Linked DNA regions of Homo sapiens: all the other regions are linked to region 7. Evidence: promoter capture Hi-C in 16 types of primary human blood cells and fetal thymus (Javierre and others, 2016). All regions are on one chromosome and are shown on one strand. Each heading gives the region's core, a stretch centred on a gene start or on the middle of the fragment in contact. The rest is flanking DNA. Distances are from core to core; before and after follow the strand shown.

What was found. Contacts are between HindIII fragments. The CHiCAGO score rates a contact against its expected background, and 5 or more counts as called.
Region 1: a contact is called between a fragment that was not itself captured here and the fragment with the promoter of NSUN6 in region 7, in 1 of 17 cell types (activated CD4 T cells). The highest score is 7.3, in activated CD4 T cells.
Region 2: a contact is called between a fragment that was not itself captured here and the fragment with the promoter of NSUN6 in region 7, in 1 of 17 cell types (monocytes). The highest score is 6.3, in monocytes.
Region 3: a fragment that was not itself captured here is called in contact with the fragment with the promoter of NSUN6 in region 7 in 7 of 17 cell types (total CD4 T cells, total CD8 T cells, non-activated CD4 T cells and 4 more); the score reaches 12.3 in total CD4 T cells.
Region 4: a fragment that was not itself captured here is called in contact with the fragment with the promoter of NSUN6 in region 7 in 1 of 17 cell types (non-activated CD4 T cells); the score reaches 5.5 in non-activated CD4 T cells.
Region 5: a contact is called between a fragment that was not itself captured here and the fragment with the promoter of NSUN6 in region 7, in 1 of 17 cell types (monocytes). The highest score is 6.3, in monocytes.
Region 6: a contact is called between a fragment that was not itself captured here and the fragment with the promoter of NSUN6 in region 7, in 4 of 17 cell types (total B cells, total CD8 T cells, non-activated CD4 T cells and 1 more). The highest score is 8.6, in total B cells.

The regions. Positions count from the first base shown.
Region 1 is chr10:17,131,680-17,134,379 of GRCh38, reverse strand. No RefSeq gene overlaps it. Among named protein-coding and RNA genes, the nearest start is that of CUBN, 3.2 kb to the right of the region's middle. The HindIII fragment of the contact is 1,446 bases long and covers 565-2,010 here.
Region 2 is chr10:20,131,200-20,133,899 of GRCh38, reverse strand. The region is part of intron 4 of PLXDC2 (plexin domain containing 2); the gene reads right to left. Among named protein-coding and RNA genes, the nearest start is that of PLXDC2, 320 kb to the right of the region's middle. The HindIII fragment of the contact is 1,126 bases long and covers 884-2,009 here.
Region 3 is chr10:17,208,286-17,210,985 of GRCh38, reverse strand. No RefSeq gene overlaps it. Among named protein-coding and RNA genes, the nearest start is that of TRDMT1, 8.0 kb to the right of the region's middle. The HindIII fragment of the contact is 6,585 bases long and covers 1-2,700 here.
Region 4 is chr10:17,257,180-17,259,879 of GRCh38, reverse strand. No RefSeq gene overlaps it. Among named protein-coding and RNA genes, the nearest start is that of VIM-AS1, 29 kb to the right of the region's middle. The HindIII fragment of the contact is 8,535 bases long and covers 1-2,700 here.
Region 5 is chr10:20,074,262-20,076,961 of GRCh38, reverse strand. All of the region lies in intron 4 of PLXDC2 (plexin domain containing 2), which reads right to left. Among named protein-coding and RNA genes, the nearest start is that of PLXDC2, 260 kb to the right of the region's middle. The HindIII fragment of the contact is 4,019 bases long and covers 1-2,700 here.
Region 6 is chr10:17,186,545-17,189,244 of GRCh38, reverse strand. The region is part of intron 1 of TRDMT1 (tRNA aspartic acid methyltransferase 1); the gene reads left to right. Among named protein-coding and RNA genes, the nearest start is that of TRDMT1, 14 kb to the left of the region's middle. The HindIII fragment of the contact is 6,870 bases long and covers 1-2,700 here.
Region 7 is chr10:18,650,172-18,652,871 of GRCh38, reverse strand. NSUN6 (NOP2/Sun RNA methyltransferase 6) reads left to right here and starts at 1,285. Exons shown (of 11, transcript NM_182543.5): 1 at 1,285-1,743. The coding sequence starts at 1,669. RefSeq lists an enhancer at 1,046-1,145. The HindIII fragment of the contact is 3,002 bases long and covers 1-1,907 here.

The sequences.
Region 1 (2,700 bases), core at 38-2,537, 1.5 Mb after region 7:
ATGAGTGGAAATCAACAGTACAGCAGACACCATTATAAACTTAAAGTCTACAACATGCCATTAATGTTATCAGTGTTCTGACCTAAGGGTTTTATTTATTTTTTATTATTTTATTTTATTTTTATTTTTTGAGACAGAGTCTCACTCTGTCACCCAGGCTGGAGGGCAGTGGCATGATCTCAGCTCACTGCAAGCTCCGCTTCCCGGGTTCAAGCCATTCTCCTGCCTCAGCCTCCTGAGTAGCTGGTACTACAGGCGCCCACCACCACGCCCAGCTGATTTTTTGTATTTTTAGTACAGACGGGGTTTCACCGTGTTAGCCAGGATGGTCTCCATCTCCTGACCTCGTGATCCACCCGCCTCGGCCTCCCAAAGTGCTGGGATTACAGGTTTGAGCCACCGCGCCGGGCCCTAAGGGTTTTATTTTAATGAATGCGTACAAATGTGCATAAGGGTTCCTTAGGTAAACTCTCCAACTAGGTGCCCTCCTCCAAACACTGAGCAGCCCCCAGAGCAGATCCTCCCTGTCCGAGGGCTCCATTGCTAGCACCCCATATAAAAGCTTCCTCACCCTGGTTACTCAGTTCCACTCAAGGATGATACCGTTTCTTTTGGATTGCCTGCTCTTCAAAACTCTTGGATTTAAATGGAATCTTGCTCTCCACCCACCAATGTGGAGTTGTTCTGTGCTTCCTGGAGTCACCTTGCCTTGTTCTTAGACATCAGTTACCTTTGCCTCACACCTTTAACTCCAGGTCAGCAATCGTCTTCCTCACTCAAAGTCCCCAATTCATCTCTCTGCTCTGAAATCCTCTTTTATAGGAGAAATGATCAGACACCCTTGCTTCTCCTTGTACCCAAGATTATAAAGACAGCTGTGAATTCTTTTTGTCATTTTTTCTTTTAAGGAATCTAAACCCAAGAGAGGATACAGGAGGGTGAGGATTATTATATTTCTTTACATGATATTGATAACAGCTTATATTTAATGAACACTTATTTTGTGCCAGTAACCTAATGTGCTAAACATTTTACATAACTTCAGTGCTGTTATTATCTGTCTGCTGATGAAAAAACAAGGTTCCATGGTCAGTAAGTGATGGAGTCAGACTTTGAACGCACATAAATGAGCTTCAGGCCCGTGTTCTTAACCTTCAACCATGTGGTCTTCCCTAGACTGGAGGCTTCAGAGGGAAGAATCTGCAATTTACTACATTTCGTGTTCCTATCATCTTATAGATGGCTAATATGTAAAGGGCACATGCAGAATATTAGGGGAATGCATTCTAGATTAGGGAAGAGACAGGAGTTTTACTAGTCAATGAAAGATAGAATTTCAGGTCTATAGAATGTTTACCTTGGGAGAGGAGAAGAAGAGAGGTTATCTACCATATAGATCTGAAGGTCATAGATTCTAAAACTACTTTAATTCATCTTTCCTGAAGTATTTCTGAATAGAGTAAGTAAACAGAATGAGTGCCAATCCCTTGGAAACAGCAATTGATTTTTATATTGCTTTTCACAGAGTCAACATATGCAGACAGTCTGACTTGCCTATTGATCTGAGCTAGAGTTGAGTGAATGAGCTGGATGTAAAATTCCCTAACTCATCACTAAAAGTCAGTCAGACCTTGAACGACGGTTACTTTCTTTTTTTTTTCTAACATGGGTGACAATGAGCAATTGAATGCTTAGATTGGGAGCTGAGAGATTATCTTTACTTTGTTGAGTAATAAACACATTAATTAACAAAACAGGAAAATCCTGTCAAAGAGGAAGTCCTTATTAAGATCATGCTGGAGGCCTTTTCTATTGCACTGGAAAGATTAGCTGAGTTCAGTGGTCTTTAAGAAAGTATAATCATGAAAATAGTTACGTCCAGAGCTCAGAGAGTTTGAATTATCCTTTTGATTGGAAGATTCTAGCCCAGACTATTTTATCCTATTCTAAACTTGCCAAAAATTTCATATTGTCAAACTTTCCCTCCACCCCATGCCAAGTTGTTAAGCTTTCAAATAAACAAATTTATTATGATAAATTTCATCTCTATTGATGTAAAGGCTATTGGATATCTTTTCTTAGCATTTAGTTTAATACCAAATTAATATTTTGTATCATCCTGATATATGAAGACATTTACAAATATAGAAGAGAAATAATTTTAATCAGTTTTATTGTGCTGTAATTTACATCTGCCAAAGATTATCTATTTTAACTATACAGCTTTATGAGTTTTGACAAATTTATACAGTCATGCAACCACAATCACAATCATGATACAGAACATTTTCATCACCCTTAAATATTCCCTCATGCCTCCTTGCGATCAATCTCCTCCCCAACCCCTGGCCTCTGATTTGTTGTCTATCAATCAGTGTAGTTTTGGCTTTTTTAGATTTTCATATGGAATCATGTGATATAGAATCACTTAGGAAGTAGTCTTTTGTGTCTTATTGTTGTCCTTGAAAAATATTTTTAAGCAAGCAAAATGACTTGCCACAGGTTGGCAGAAAAATATTTGCAAAATACGTATTTGAAAATTCTTGTATCTAGAATATATGAGCTCTTACAATCAATAAAAGACAAACAACAAAATTTTAAAAAATAGGCAAAATATCTAAACAGACAGTTCACCGAAGAAGATAAACAAATGGCAAATATACATAAAAAGATGCCCAACATCTTTGGTCATTAGGGAAA
Region 2 (2,700 bases), core at 197-2,696, 1.5 Mb before region 7:
TTTTTAAAAGAGTAAAGAAAGCCTACAGGAATTATGAGACATCATTAAGTGAACCAATATATTCATTATGGGAGTTCCAGAAGAAGCAGAGAAAGAGAAAAGGCAAAAGCTTATTATGCATAAACAATAACAGAAAACTTCCCAAATCTGGAGAGAGAAATGAACGTTCAGATCCATGACGCCCAAAGAATCCCAAGTAGTTTAGACATAAAGAGATCATCACAAAAACATGTTATTAACAAATTCTCTGAAGTCAAAGACATAGCGAGAAATTTGAGAGCAGCAAGACAAAAATCTACTCATGACATGAAAGGGAAGGTCTGTAAGGCTACCAGGGTGTTTCTCAGCAGGAACCTTATAGGGCAAAAGAGAGACAAATAATAAATTCAAAGTGTTGAAAGTAAACCAGCAATGACCAAGAATACTATAACTAGCCAAGTTGACTTTTACAATGAAAAAGAGAGACAGAATTTCCCAGACAAACAAAAGATGAGGGAGTTCATCACCATTAGGACTACCTCACAAGAAATGGTAAAGAGAACCTTTAAGTTGAAATGAAATGATAGAAACTAACAACGCGAAAATATATGAAAGAATTAAACTCACTGTAAAGGTCAGAATGCAATCACACTCAGCTATTCTTATATTCCAATAGTGCTCCACAACTCACTTTTAACTCTAGTATAAAAGTTTAAAGACAAAGGTATTGGAAATATAGCTATAATAATTTATTAATGAATACATAATAAAAAAGATAAAATTGTGAAGTCATCTACAAAAAATATGAGAAGACAAGTTAAAGTGTAGTTTTTGTATGTGGAGGAAGTTACATTGTTATCAGTTTAAAACATATGCTATGACTTGAAGATGTCTTATGTAAGCTTAGTGGTAACCACGAAGGAAAAATTGATGGTAGACATAAAGATAAAGAAGTTAAAGCAAATCACGACAAAAAATTATCAAATCAAAAAGAAGGCAACAAGAGAGGAAGAAAAGAAGAAAAGGGCTATAAAATAGAAAACAATAAAATGGCAATAGTAAATCTTTACCTGTAAATAATTACTTTAAATGTATGGATTACATTCTTCAATCAAAAGACATATAGTGGTTGAATGGATTTTTTTTTTTTAAAGATCAAACTATATGTTCTTTACAAAAGACTTAACCTTAGCTTTAAGGACACTCATATGCTGAAAGTGAAAGGATGGAAAAAGATAGTCCCTGCAAAAATAGTCCAAAAGAGAGCAGGAGTAGCCGTAACTATATCAGACAAAAGAGATGTTAAATCAAAAACTGCCACAAGAGACAATGATAAAGATATCAATTCATCAAAAGGACATAAAATTGTAAATAGTTATGCCCTCAATATTAAGAACATAAATATATAAAGCAAATATTAAGAGAGCTAAAAGGAGAAATAGTTCACCAATACAATAATAGTAGAGGACTTCAATATTGCCACCTTCAGCAGTGGATAGGTCATCCAGACAAAAACAATCCATAAGTATACAGAAGACACGAACAAGACTGAAGACCAAATGAATTTAACAGAGATATATAGAACGTTTCATCCAACAGCAGCAGAATATACATTCTTTACAAATGCACATGGAATATTTGTTAGGATAGATCCACGTTAGGTCAAATAAAAGTCTTCACAGATTTAAGAAGATTTAAGTAATACCAAGTATCTTTTCAGACCACGATGAAATGAAATTAGAAATCAATAAGAGGAGGAAAATTGGAAGCATTTGCAAATATGTGAAAATTAAATAACATAGTTCTGAACAACCAATGAGTCAAAGAAGAAATCAATAGTGATCTTAAAAGATATCTTGAGACAAACAAAAATGCAAATATAACTTTCCAAATTTTATGGGATGCAGCAACAGCAGCCCTAAGGGGTAAGTTTATAGCAATAAATGCCTACATGAAGAAAAAAGAAAGATTTCATAAAAGCAACCTAATATGACACCTCAAGGAACAAGGAAACAAGAACAAACTAAGCTTAAGAAAGGATATAATAAAGAGTTAGCAGAAGGAAGGAAATAAAAAAGATCAGAATATATATGAATGATATAGGGACTAGAAAAAACAATACAAAAGATTAATGAAACTAGGAGTTGGGTTTTTTTTCTAAATAAACAAAAGAGTAACTTTTAGTTAAACTAAGAAAAAATAGAATAATAAAACTGTAAGTGGCCGGGTGCAGTGGCTCACGCCTGTAATCCCAGCACTTTGGGAGGCTGAGGCAGGTGGATCACCTGAGGTCAGGAGTTCAAGACCAGCCTGACCAATATGATGAAACCCTGTCTCTATTAAAAATACAAAAATTAGCTGGGCATGGTGGCATGTGCCCATAATTCCAGCTACTCGGGAGGCTGAGACAGGAGAATTGCTCGAACTCAGGAGGCGGAGGTTGCAGTGCACTGAGATTGCACCATTGCACTCCAGCCTGGGCAACAAGAGTGAAACTCTGTCTCAAAAAAGAAAAAAAATTATAAGTGAAAGAAGAGATTACAATTGATACCATATAAATATAAAATATCAGAAGAAACTACTATAAAAATTATATGCCAACAAATTCGATAACCTAGAAGCAGTGTATAAATTTCTGGAAACATACATATTACCACGTCGGAACAGAACAGTACAGAAACACTAAATAGAATAGAAAATATGGATAAAAGAAACCAGAAC
Region 3 (2,700 bases), core at 190-2,689, 1.4 Mb after region 7:
AGTCCCAGCCTACTCAGGAGGCTGAGGCAGGAGAATCACTTGAATCCAGGAGGTGGAGGTTGCAGTGAGCTGAGGTCGCACAACTGCATGCCTATTTTACTATTAGCAAAAAAGAGAAAAAATGGTCAGAAGAGAGACTCTTGCAGTTATATTGAGCTTTCAGTACTTTGGGCTTTTCCAATGTTTGTTTATTAAGTCCCTTTCACTTTAGGTGATAATCAAAAATTTATTTTCCAAATAATAATGCCTCATCTCTCGAGGGAACAAGTAACACGATAAAACTGCTTTTTGATTTTAAAACTGTGCAAAGATATATAAATAATGCTGTTTGTTGCATTCTTTTTTCACTCTATTCTAGGATTTGGTCCTAAAATGAAAGGAGAAAAAAAAAAAAAGACATGCAGATTCCTGACATTCTTTCCTAACCAGAATCCTGTCTAACTCCTAATATGAAATCCTTCCTCAAATATATACTAACTCCCTTTCATTTTTATTTGATGAGTTCCAGCCTATTTTTTCCTCAAAAAACTAGTGTTATCGTCTAAATTCCCTTCTTTTAAAAATATGTTTGTGTGATTTGCAAATAAATCTGTTAACCTGCAGAATGTTAACTTATGTGACTTTGAGCAAATGACATGAAGTTTTCTACTTTTTATTTGTAAAAAAGTGAATATTAAGAAAGAAAAGCCGATAGGTCTAAAATGGGTTAATAAGCATTTTAAACATTTATAAAGTTATTTGAAACATACAAGTCATTATTGTGTTATTATTATTTTCCTATTAGTCAAACATACTTTTTCTGTCTTTTGGAATGTGGTCTATTTTCATCAGCCAGTATTCTCTGAGTGACTAAACATAGTACCAATCCCATTGGAGGATTTATACATTTTAACTTAGCAGTAATTACCTTAGATGGAAATAAAACATTTTAGTCTTGATCTGCAGGAATAAGTTTAACTCTGTAAAGTAAAGGTTGACAGCCTCTAGAGCATGAGGCTAGAGGAGAAAGTTTGAAAAATGAAATGTGCTTGTATGTTGTAATATGCTCACGTAAGTGACTTGAAACTGACAAGAAACGTTTTAATAATTTTAAATAATAGGAAGTTTTTTTCTTACAGAGTGAATAGATACAGTCATGGCAGTACTATGAAAGTGTTATTACATTTTAGTTATATTTGTCATTATTGGATCATATGAGAACAATTCTAAGTGATACTGTTGTCTACCTAAACTAGTACCTAAGTAGGGTAAAATTAAAAGTCTTTGTCTTTGAATTTTTTCTGGGTTTTAGTTTATCAGTTCTGATGATGTAGCAATGCAGAAAAAAGACTATGAAGGAGTGTGTGCCTGTGTATGTGTGTATGTGTATGTGTGTTTTCCCTTTCCTGGTGTGAGTAGGTCTGATTTGTGTTCTTTGGTTACCTTGAGCAGTTCTAAATGTTCAGATAAATTACAAGAGAAAAGGAGCAAAGTACTAACAGCTCTCCAAGGTACTAAATTCTGTCTCCTATATTCTCAACATGGGTCGTGTTTTTCCACCTGAAAAGATTGAAGGCTATAATAGAAAACAATACAGAAAGACATCTTGTTAGGCAATATGCAAATTAATCTCTTGGTAGTATACCCTTTATGAAAACATACTAGGAAAATAATTCTCCCTATTGTTAGAAGAAATGGGTTCTATATTATGACAAAGTTGTTCAGAAAGTGAAAGGAAACCAGTATTTATTGTTCTAGGCACATTATTGATATATATCTATCAGTGTGTGTGTGTACATATGTATATACTGATATATATACATATATACACACTTATATACATTGTGTTTATATTGAAATGTACATATATACATTGTCTATATACACACATTGTATATATAGGTATGTACACATATAAATGATATATGTATATATTGATATGTACACATATATAATTGATATGTGTACAATTATTTACACATGATATATATATACACACACAGTTACCTTGTTATCAAATATTTCCCGTTTAATATGTGAAGAAAGGGAGTATTTGAGGCAGGATCCATGGTAATCCATCTAGTTCTAAGGACCATATTCTTTGTCCTGTATCAAGCTGTCTTTGCAGGAGTGATTGGGCAGGGGATCTGTTATCAATGTTAAACATTAGTTTCTGAGATAGTCTCTATTTTGTGCAGCTATGTTAACATTTTTGTCTGGCTTTTATAGCATGCATTACCATATCAGATCAAGTTTGCTTCATAGATCTCTGAAGTTCCCCTCAGTCCTCAGGTCAGCCTGCTCTCAGGAAGTGACATATTGTGGCTCCTATGATTGCTTTGGTTTAGATCCCTGGCCTTGCCTGGGTGTAGAGGGGCAGCAGGCAGGACCAACTGAGTCTACTTAGTATCTTTTATACTAAGTTACAGTGTAGCTGTTGCTCTACCTCTCTATCTTTGCTCCCCATTCCAGAGGAGATTTGGTTTGAACAAAAGGCTTTATCTCTAAAAATAGTTTAAAAAACAGTGTATCAAATAGTCCTTAAGATACTTTCTAGTTCTAATTTTCTGTGAAGTTAAGAAAGCAGTTTTAAAGAATGGATCCCACTATATTTACTTTGAAACATCATCTTTTAAATTTGCTGCAAAATATTTTTAAATTGAGAATTTCAGAATGAGCCTCCAAGAGCAAAATCCATGTTAAAAATCTATGAGTAGTTTG
Region 4 (2,700 bases), core at 35-2,534, 1.4 Mb after region 7:
TTCTACAGAAAGCCTAAAGCTGAAACAGAATAAATTAACTACTGGGATTTCATTCTGTCACCCTAGCTGGAGCAACCATGAACTTCTGGGCTCAGGCGATCCTCCCACCTCAGCCTCCTGAGTAGCTGGGACTACAGGCATGCACCACCACACCTGGCTAATTTTAAAATTTTTGTAGAGATAGGATCTCGCTACATTGACTAGCCTGGTCTCAAACTCCAGGGCTCGAGTAATCTTCCCACTTCAGCCCCCCAAAGTGCTAGGATTGCAGGTGTGACCTACCATGTCTAACCTATGGGGGCATTTCTGATTCAGAACCCAAACACCTCTTCTCTATCATGATAAGTAGAATCTGTATATTGGGAATGGGTGTGAAGTAAATTTTTAGTATTTATTTATTTATTTATTTGGAGAGAGAGTCTCTTGCTCTGTTGCCCAGGCTGGAGTGCCGTGGTGCAATCTCGGCTAAGTGCAACTTCCACCTCCCGGGTTGAAGCGATTCTCCTGCCTCAGCTTCCCGAGTAGCTGGGACTACAGGCACGTGCCACCATGCCTAGCTAATGTTTTTTTGTATTTTTAATAGAGATGGGGTTTCGCCATGTTGGCCAGGATGGTCTTGAACTCCTGACCTCAGGTGATCCACCCACCTTGGCTTCCCAAAGTGCTGGGATTACAGGTGTGAGCCACTGTACCCGGCCAATTTTTAGTGTTTCTACATTAGGCAAACCCATCTTTCCTGGCAATTTTCTTATGTACACTTTGTTTATACTTTGAAACAACTGAAATTTTGAGAGCTATTTCCCCTCACATAGGAAGCCAATTGACAGGGGCCACCTCAATGCTCTTGACCTCTAGTGGGGATTGGACCCCACAGATTCTTGCTACTCAGTGCTGTCCCAGGCCAGCATATCAATATCTCTTGGGAGCTTGCTGGAGATGCAGTATCTCAGGCCCCGCCCTTGGCAGCTGAAACAGAACCTTCATTTTAACAAGATTCCCTAGTGAGTCGAGTGCAAATTAAAGTTTGAGAAGTACTCTCCTAAATCACAGCTTGGTCAATCAAGAAGCAAGTGGTCCCAGGATGTTTCTATCCTTTAAATGTAACAACAATCCCATTACTGAGTTTTTTTGTTTCTTTTATTTGTTTGTTTTTGTTTTTTTTTTGAGATGGAGCGTTGCTTTGTCGCCCAGACTGGAGTGCAGTAGTGCCATCTCAGCTCACTGCAACCTCCACTTCCCAGGTTCAAGCAATTCTCCTGCCCCAGCCTCCTGAGTAGCTGGGGCTACAGGTGCATGCCACCACACCCAGCTAATTTTTGTATTTTTAGTAGAGATGGGGTTTCACCATGTTGGTCAGGCTTGTCTCGACTACCTGACCTCAGGTGATCCACCCGCCTCGGCCTCCCAAAGTGCTAGGATTACAGGTGTGAGCCACCGCGCCCGGCAATTACTCAGTGTGTAATGTGAACCACAGGCACTTTGAGTTCGTGGTCTCTAATTACTGACAGAGTCATTCAGGGCAGGTATCCTCAATTCTCATTTCCAGCTGAGAAAGAATGAGATTTGGGAGACAAAGTAACTTGGTAGAAATTACACAGCCAATAAATGAAAGTTCCTGGATGTGAACACAGGTTTATCTTCTGACTGAGCAATATTGCTTCCCATTCTTCTTGCTGTTTTTCAAAGCACCGTTTTTGATGAGGTAGGTCCTGGGGTCATAAAGAGAAAGGAATTTTGTTCATTTTACTCTTCCCTGGACTGTGTGAAATATTTCAGGTACAGAGACTAAGTCAATGATTATCTATCTGGTGGATTAAAGAACAGACAATTCAGAAATGCTCTTGATGGTCATAAGTTAATTTTAAAAATTTATTTAGAAGGGATCCTCAGGAATGCCTAATTGTATCCACTGGATTTTAATACTTTCAATTCCGTGCAACTAAATGTGGCCCTTGGAAAAGTCCTGTGACTTCCGAACCCACCAGTAGATGTCAGTATTTCTTTGGACACCACAATGGCCTCTCAAGTTTTTGCCCTACCAGGCTCTTCACAAGATCCGTTGTGTCTGAAGAAGGAGCGGCGACTTTTTGTCTACATTTTTACTTGGTTGGAACAATCTTCTGAGATATCTTCAAGGGTGTTAGTGACCCCAAGGCAGTACTCTCTTGCCCTCTCTCTCTCCCTGTCTCTCTCTGTCTCTGTATGTGTGCGCCTCTTTCCTTCTCTTTCTCTCCCTATTTCCTCTCCCCATACTCCCACACTGACATTTTTTAATGAAAAAGATGATTTTCTCCCATGAAGATATTTCTGTGCAGATGTTAGAAAAGGACATTCGAAGACACTAAAGTCAGATTTTGTCAAGCCCTCTGGCTGGTAAACCAAGCAGATCCCACTCTCCAGGAATGAAGCAACTATTACGTTGGGGCGAAAGTTATTGCTATTACTTTTAATGGCAAAAAAACACGATTTTTTCCCCCAACCTAATACTACCATGCTAAATGCCAATTCAAAAAGGATTGCCCTTTGAAGAAAAAAAGGCAGAAGTAAGCAGGAAGGATAGCTCACTTGGAGTATCATCCGAGTTAGCTTAGGTAAAGACTGTAGCTTTCTACTAAAGCGTAATTTATTTCTCAAAGAATATTTTATATGCAACTATTTTCTGGGCTCTGTTCTGGAGCTTTATTAAATGTGTAAGAAGGC
Region 5 (2,700 bases), core at 137-2,636, 1.4 Mb before region 7:
AGAGAAATATTTCGAGATTCTATCGTGTGTTACAAAATTGCTAAATTTTGTAAGGTTTCCAGACAGTGTCCCAGAGTCCCAAAATGTCATCATGGGACAGTCTTTAGAGAGATTCTGAACAGCACCAAAAAATGATAGGTATAGCCATGGTGATCAAGCGGACATCCCAAGTTATTTACATGCTATTCTACTTCCCAGACATCAGTGGTTGAGCCAGCCTTTAATAGGAGCAGTTAGAGATGACAATGGATTAGGTTCCTAAACACTCCTTGAGACCCCTTCTATGCTTTATGGAGAGAAATCTAATGAATGAGGTCATCAAAGGAAACAACAGACAAACTAAAAAGGCAGCACAGGACTTAAAGAGAAAGCACTTTGAAAAGAAATAAAGGAGGAAATGTAAGTGGGGGAAAAATGCAGTATTAGCATATGCTATCTATGTAGCATTTTCTATGAAACAGGTATCATTAACATATGTTAATTAATTTAGTCATCACAACAAATTTATGCACCAGGTATTTTTATTGTGCTATTTTATAGGCAAGGAAACTGACATCAGAGAGATTAAGTCATTTGCTGAAGATCATACAGTTACGATTGCCTTGGCTTATGAACTGAAGTATTCAGATTCAAAAGTCTATTTATCTTAACCTGGAAGCCTAACTTCTTCTCTAAGAAAATGCAACTCAATTTCTGGCTTAAGTAGGAATTGAGGGAACTCTTTTGAACTCATTTCTGAAATGGCCAGGGTCTAATGTCAGTCCTGCACTATTTACTATTTCTTTCCTTTACTTTCCAGGATTCGACAATGTTAGAGCATCTGGCATATATTGTTACTTTATTAATTGCACAGAGTCACTTAGACACCCTTTATTTTCAATTGGGTGATGTATTTCAGGATCTGTGTAAAATTGCTATTTATCTGAATTACTGCTGCAGTGACTAGGAAAGGCTACAAGCAAAAATATCATTGCCAGTGTTTCCAATAAAGCCTGGATGTGCTGGAAGAAGATGAATGATGCTTTCCTGGTATAAACATCCGTAAGGGAGTATTCTAGCACTAGCAATCAGTGGACACTTCAGTGGCTGTTATGGCAATGGAAGGGGATGAGCCTGGAGACCATGTTTTTCACCCACACCCTTGTCTCAGCTGATCCACCTTCCCCCATTCCTGTCCTAAAATCATGACTTATCCATCATGTGCCAATGCTCTGCTCAGTTTTGTTTACATCTAATTGTTCTCCTTCATTCTACCCATATTTCTGTCTCTTGTATTTTTCTTGCTGATTCCTATTGAGTCAACTCTTGCTCCTGGGTGCTTTCTCTCTGGGTCTCCTACTGGCTTAATTTCCAATTATGCTTCCCACCCCTGCCACAAGGAGCCAGTGCTAATGAAATAAAGCATGTATGGACAGACATGCAGGAGAAACAAGTGGTTGTGAATATGAAATTCGTGAAAGACAAAACAACATAGCTTGGCGCAGTGTCTCACACCTGTAATCCCAGCACTTTTGGAGGCTGAGATGGGAGGATTGCTAGAGGCTAGGAGTTTGAGATCAGCCTGGACAACATAATGAGACTCCATCTCTACAAAAAAATCTAAAAATTGGCCAGGCATGGTGGTGCATGCCTGTAGTCCCAGCTATTTGGGGAGCTGAAGTGGGAGGATCACTTGAGCCTAGGAGGTCAAGGCTGCAGTGAGCTGTGATTGTGCCACTGCACTCCAGCTTGGGTGACAGAGTGAGATCCTGTCTACAAAATAAAGAAATAAATATATAATAATGGTCAAGCTACTGAATCTACTGCTGACACTAGACAGTTTGAGGGAGGAGTAAGTTATCAAAGAAGACAGCTCAGATGAACTCTCAGGTTTTTGGAGGTCTATCTCAGAGAATTATTCAGATTCAGCAGATCAGACATCACGCAATTCATCTTTCTCTCTAGGAATCCTTGAGACTTGAGTTTGTAACTTTAAATCATTGAAGCAAGTTGGAATGAATTTACTTTCATCCAGCATCTATCTCTTTAGTATCTTCCATAACACATAGATCTCCAGATTACCATAACCTGTGATCTCTGTTAATAATAATAATAATACAAAACAACTCCATTCACCTTCTCCCTAGATGCAGAAAGTTAATGGATACACCATGCTTTGTTTTATGGGGTTATACACTTGAAAGAAGATGTTGTTGGTATTTACAAATCAATCATCATGAGTAATAACTATCTTCCTCTCCTAAAAAGCCTTTTATTCCTGTTATTAATCAAGTCCCTATAAAGAGTATGAAATATTATTTGGGACTACAATTAAAATATTACCATTTGAAAGCCAGAACAAAAAAGGAGCAGGGAGATTTGGTAATATATTTCCTGAAAAGCTAATGAAGATAAAATGCATTAATATTTTTAAAAAATCTCTCTTAGTGGGAATTTAAACAGAAAAAAAGCTAATGATTATTGGCCAGATATAGGAAACTACTCTAAGTTTGAATTTTAATATACCATACCTCAAAAAGTAAGGTATTTTTTTTTGGGAGGGAAACTGGTGAACTAAGAGACAAAGGAAGAAGGGAGATTTACATTTTACTTTTGCCTGTTTGACTTGTTAAATGTCCACGTTATTAGTTTTTCAGATATGTACAGGTATTACTTAATAAACATTTTAATCTTTTACGTAGCAAATGAAATAAAATAGAG
Region 6 (2,700 bases), core at 2-2,501, 1.5 Mb after region 7:
CAAAATACAAATATATATACATACACTCTTATAGACATGTTTGGCATAAATTCTTCTATATGAGATATTCATTTTACCTGAAAAATTATACTTCAGAAAGAGAGTATGGCCTTATAATTTAGTCTTCTGAAAGGAAATCTCTTCATATTACTCAATTACTAAACTTTTCAAAAATAGCAAATCAATAAAGTACTGCTTGGATAAACTACATTAGCCTGAAGAAACTTAATATCATTTCTAGATGCTTATTGAGGTCACTCAATGGAATTGGCCAGAAACCATAGAAATGAATTTAAAGATCTAGAAGTAATTTTTAGGAGGATGACCTCACAATTACAAGTGTTGGATGTTATTGTAAACAAGCCTTTTGAAAATTACTTTATAAAGCAATACAGTAGGTGATTACTTCGCGGAAATCACAAATAGCTACTGGGTATTTGTGGTGGGCATAAAATTTCCAGTGACATCATTATACACGAACTCAAAAAGGGCTAGTTCTCAAGTAACTCTGACTGAAGGAAAGTTGGTGTGTCCTTGAACACTGTTAGATGATTTAAAAGGTGGCTCTGTTGATGATAGTGACCCTGATTTCAAAGAGGCACATGAGAAAGTAGAATAAAATCATTTCATGAACTTTGAGTAGAAAATATACAATATTTCCAAATGAACATGCTAAGATAGTGCTGTATAAAATATGTTGGAGGCTTCTCCTTGTGTGAAGCTCTGTGGGAGCAGGGATTCGTTGTTTTATCATCTCTGCCTGGAGCCAGAGCCAGCGCCAGCGTCAGTCATGCTCAATAAATATGTCTTGAATTCATAAATGAACCTGGTTATAAACTCACAGGAAATACTTGCTGAAAATATTTTGCAGAGCATGAATAAACACTTGACAGGGTTGGTAAAAGGTTTTCATAAGCATTGTCCCGTTCAGTAGTCAGGGGATAAATCCTTTCTCTATTTTTTAAAGATATTACCTGGAATTATATCTTTATAAATTCATAACAGATCCTAAAGATTACCTCAGATGGCTTCTTCAAGCACATATTTATTGAATACAAGCTAGCCAGACCTGTTAAATGGGATAAATACCCTTTTCCCTTCCCATGTTAACACCTAAGAGCTGTAATTCTTCATGCCAGTTAAAAAAAAGTTCAAAAAACAGAGTTTGTTTTACTAATGTAAAACATTAGTAAAATTAAGTTTACTAATGTAGAACTTAATTTTAATGTAAAAATAGTAATTAAACTGAATATAAAAAATAAAGTATGTTTAAATTATAAATTATACAATATGAAGTCATTTGACTATTTTGGCTACATCCTTAAACATTTATATAATGAAAATGGCCAGAAATCTAATTTTGGATATTTTCATGGGGAAAATAGGGGATTAACGTTTATTCTAGTTGTCTTATGTTTGGGCACATACAGTGGGTATGTGTGTAATGTATTTGTGTTTAGACACAGAAAAAGGTCAGGAAAGATGCACAGTGAACTGTTCTCAGTACCAAAACTTGTATCCTCTGCCCTGCCTCCCTATCCTCTGGCCTGTTTTGTTTTTCACTTTAACACTTATTACTGCCTATCATATTTTGTATTGTACTTGTTTATCTTTAAAATTGACTGCCTCCTCTTCTAGAATGTAAGCTCCTTGAGGGTGGGATTTTTTTGTTGCATTTTGTTCTATTTTGTTCACCACTGTATCCTTGGATCTAAAAGCACCATTGTATGTTGGATGCTCAACAAATATTTGTAGAATTAATGAATAAGCTATAGTACATGAACATTTTAAAGGTTGTTGATGATTGTCAAATTATTTTTTTAAAAGGACATACTAGTTTATATTCAGTAACGTCTCTGTGACCATAAATATGCCAATATAATATGTTAACCCATATAATTTACTAGGTGAAATTGTTATCTTAATTTTTGATTACTAGTGAAGTTGAATATTTAAAAATTATTATTATGTGCATTTCTTGTTTTTTATTTTTAGCAATATTAGTAATACATTTGTTAAAAAATTGGGACACACTGAAAATATTCATTTATTCAGTACATAACTATGGAGTGATTTTTCTTTGTTGCTTACTGTGTTGTATGGTGAGGATACAGCATTGAACGAGACAGTCATGTTCCTTTTTCCAGAGATTTTGCTCTACTGGGCAATACCAATGCTACACAAATAGAGAAGAAAATTTAAAAAACTCACCAATGATGCTAATGCATAAACACTGACATAACACTGGTGAAGACATAAACACTGGTGAAGGCTTAGATTAAAATCTTTATTCTAATGTGACCATGAACATTAAAATAAATTATAGCTTTCTTTCTTTACTTAGAATATCTTGAATATTTTCGCTTGCCATTAAATGTAGAATTTATAAACTTTTAATGGTTGTATCATACTCCACTTTATGAAAGTACAGTATTTGTTCGAATTAATCATCTATTCTGGGACATTCAGATCATTCATAAATTTGCACTATTATAAATAAAATAGCATCACTTATCCTATATATAAATATTTTCTTTACATCTCTAATTATTATCTATGTATGAGTTTCCTATTGCTGTTGTAACAAACATAAACTTAGTAGCTTAAAGCAACACAGGTTTATTATCTTATAATTCTGGAGGTCAGAAGTCTTAAAATCAAGTTATCAACAGGGCTGCATTCCTTCTGGAGGTTCTAGGG
Region 7 (2,700 bases), core at 36-2,535:
AACAGAGAAAATGGGCTGGGCGTGGTGGCTCACGCCTGTAATCCCAGCACTTTGGGAGGCTAGAGAGTCAGATCAGTTGAAGTCAGGAGTTTGAGACCAGCCTGGCCAGCATGGTGAAACCCCGTCTCTATTAAAATTACAAAGATTAGCTGGGCCTGGTGGCACATGCCTGTAATTTTAGCTACTCGGGAGGCCAAGGCAGGAGAATCTCTTGAACCAGGAGGTGGAGGTTGCAGTGAGTCGAGATCCCACCATTCCACTCCAGTCTGGGCGACAGAGACTCAAAAAAAAAAAAAAAAAAAGAGCAGAGAAAATGATAAACAACTTGCAGGTTGTTGTGTGGTATAATGGTCATTCATTATTTTCTACTCTTTCTGGTAAAGAGTTGGTGTGTCATGGAAAGTACCTGTTCTATGTGTGTGTGTCTGTGTGTATAATTCGGTGTGAAAATTAAAGAGAAAAAAACAATAAAAAACCCTTTCCTATACTTATGTGTAAATTACCATGGTGTGCTGCAAAAAACATATGTCAAGGTGATAGAATTATTTTGACTTTCCTGTACAGTTATAAAATGACTCAGTGAGTTTGGTTAGATATCCTCGTTCTTTGAATCTATATCCTTGTCTGCTTATGATGAAAAAAAAGAAAAAAAAATAATGGCGAGGGTCTTCCAAACTCTAAAGAATATGTCAACTATGATACAAGTAGCAGTTAGCCTTATAACTAACTGTAAACACTGTCTGTGGGTTTTAAGTTTTACCTGAGCATTGGATATTAACAGACCATTAGCCCAACTTTCAAAAATATGAACCCTATGAACTTCACAACTGAAGTCAGATCTGTATGCCTGAGAGAGGTAAAATCATGTCATGAAATCAAACGGTGGCTGATGCGCCCAAATTCTGGCCTCATCCTCTAACTGGAGGACATCTGGCAGGACAGCAACTGGGCTGTGCCTTTTTTCAGTCCAGCAACATCTTCCACTCAACCCACGCCATTTGGCTGTTTCCCCATTGCCCCTGGCACCTAGCCCTCCGGTACCGGGAACTAAATATCTTTGACCATCCCGCCCGCGGGGTCTGCCTACTTAACCTGAGGCAGGTGAAAGAGCCTCACGCAGGGTTAGGAACCTCCGGGGGCGTGGCGTAGCGTAACGCAGTGTTGGGGAAACTTGCGGCTGTGGATTGGGGGACCGGAAAGGGAGGGGTGGGCCGCAGGCGCCGGACGTGACGTAAGCCGGAAGCGACTTTCCGCCGAGAAATAGGGGGCGCGTGTTTGGAAATTGATAGAAAAGATAAAGGGACCGAGCTGCTGTCAGCCTGGCTTACTGATCTGCGTCCGTTTCACCACGGATTCAGTTACTAAGCATTTTTTTCTTTTTTTGGTTCTTTGCAACGTGAGTGGCATTGGCTCAGTGATTTCCATGAGCATCTCTACCAGAAAACATTGCCTCGATGAGGTGTGGTGGAAGCCCGGCAGCCCCTTCTAATCGGCTAGGCTTGAGAAAGCGTGTACCTCTGCATTTCCGAAATTAACTCAGCGTGATCGGCAAGATTTTCCTCAGCATCTGGTGTCAAGACACTCGTCACTATTAATTCGGAAAGAAAAAAAAAAACAAAACACCGTTTTCCAGCATTTCTCTTGGTGGAGAACTAAACAACAGGAAAAATGTCTATTTTCCCTAAGATATCTTTGAGACCTGAGGTTGAAAACTATCTTAAGGAAGGCTTTATGAATAAGGAGGTAGGTCAAGTAAAGATGTTAGTTGATATTTTGCAAAAACTCAAATATTCGCACACTCGAGAGAAATAGAAATAAGTATAAAGGGAAATCTTGACAGCCGTCGTTCCTTACTACTTGTCTATCAAGTGTAAAAATACCAATATGTTTCTACAGGTATTAAAGCTTACTGAGATACGAAGTGAATAAGGTATATGTTTTAACATTTAGGAGTGGAAAAGAAGGGAAAAAAGGCATGTGCCTGTCAGGCATGGCACAAAGGGTTACAAGGATGAACAAGAAAAGGTCCCTGTCTTCAAGAACTCGAATCGAATTTTAAAAGAGCGCTGGCTCTGGCACTCAGGTGAAAAGGTTTCTGTAATTTGTTGAGTGCCTCTTAAATGCCAGCAGTTGTGCTAGGAGATTTGCATCTTTAATCTTCACAATCTTTTTTTTCTTAGAGGTTTTTCCTCTTTTAATAGACTTGAGCAGAAAACTGCTCAAGGAATTGTGTAACTGATCCAAGTTGACACAGCTATCAAGTAACTATTGAAATCTGGAGGGAAAGAGTTCAGGTGTAATGAACAAAGGTACAGCTTTTGAATCTCAGGCACATGATTTGCATTCTAGTGCTTTGTAAATTACGTGGCTTAACCTAGATTTTTCTCTTCTGTGAAAAATTGAGAATGGTTAAAAATATCTTGCCAGGTTGTTTTAGGATATTAAACGTAAGTGAATACAACTAGCATTGTTTTGGCATGTAAGTCCTCAAAAAATGTTAATTTTATTTGCTAAAGTCCTCAGTAAATGTTGATTATCTTTGATTGCAAAGCCTGTTGTCTATTCCATTTTACCATGCTGCCTCTAAGCAACTTTGTTTTTTTTCAAATCTTTAATTTTTTAGTCAAGTTAAAAATATTTTACCAGGTTGTTTTAGGATATTAAACGTAAATGAAAACAACTTGCATTGTTTTGGCATGT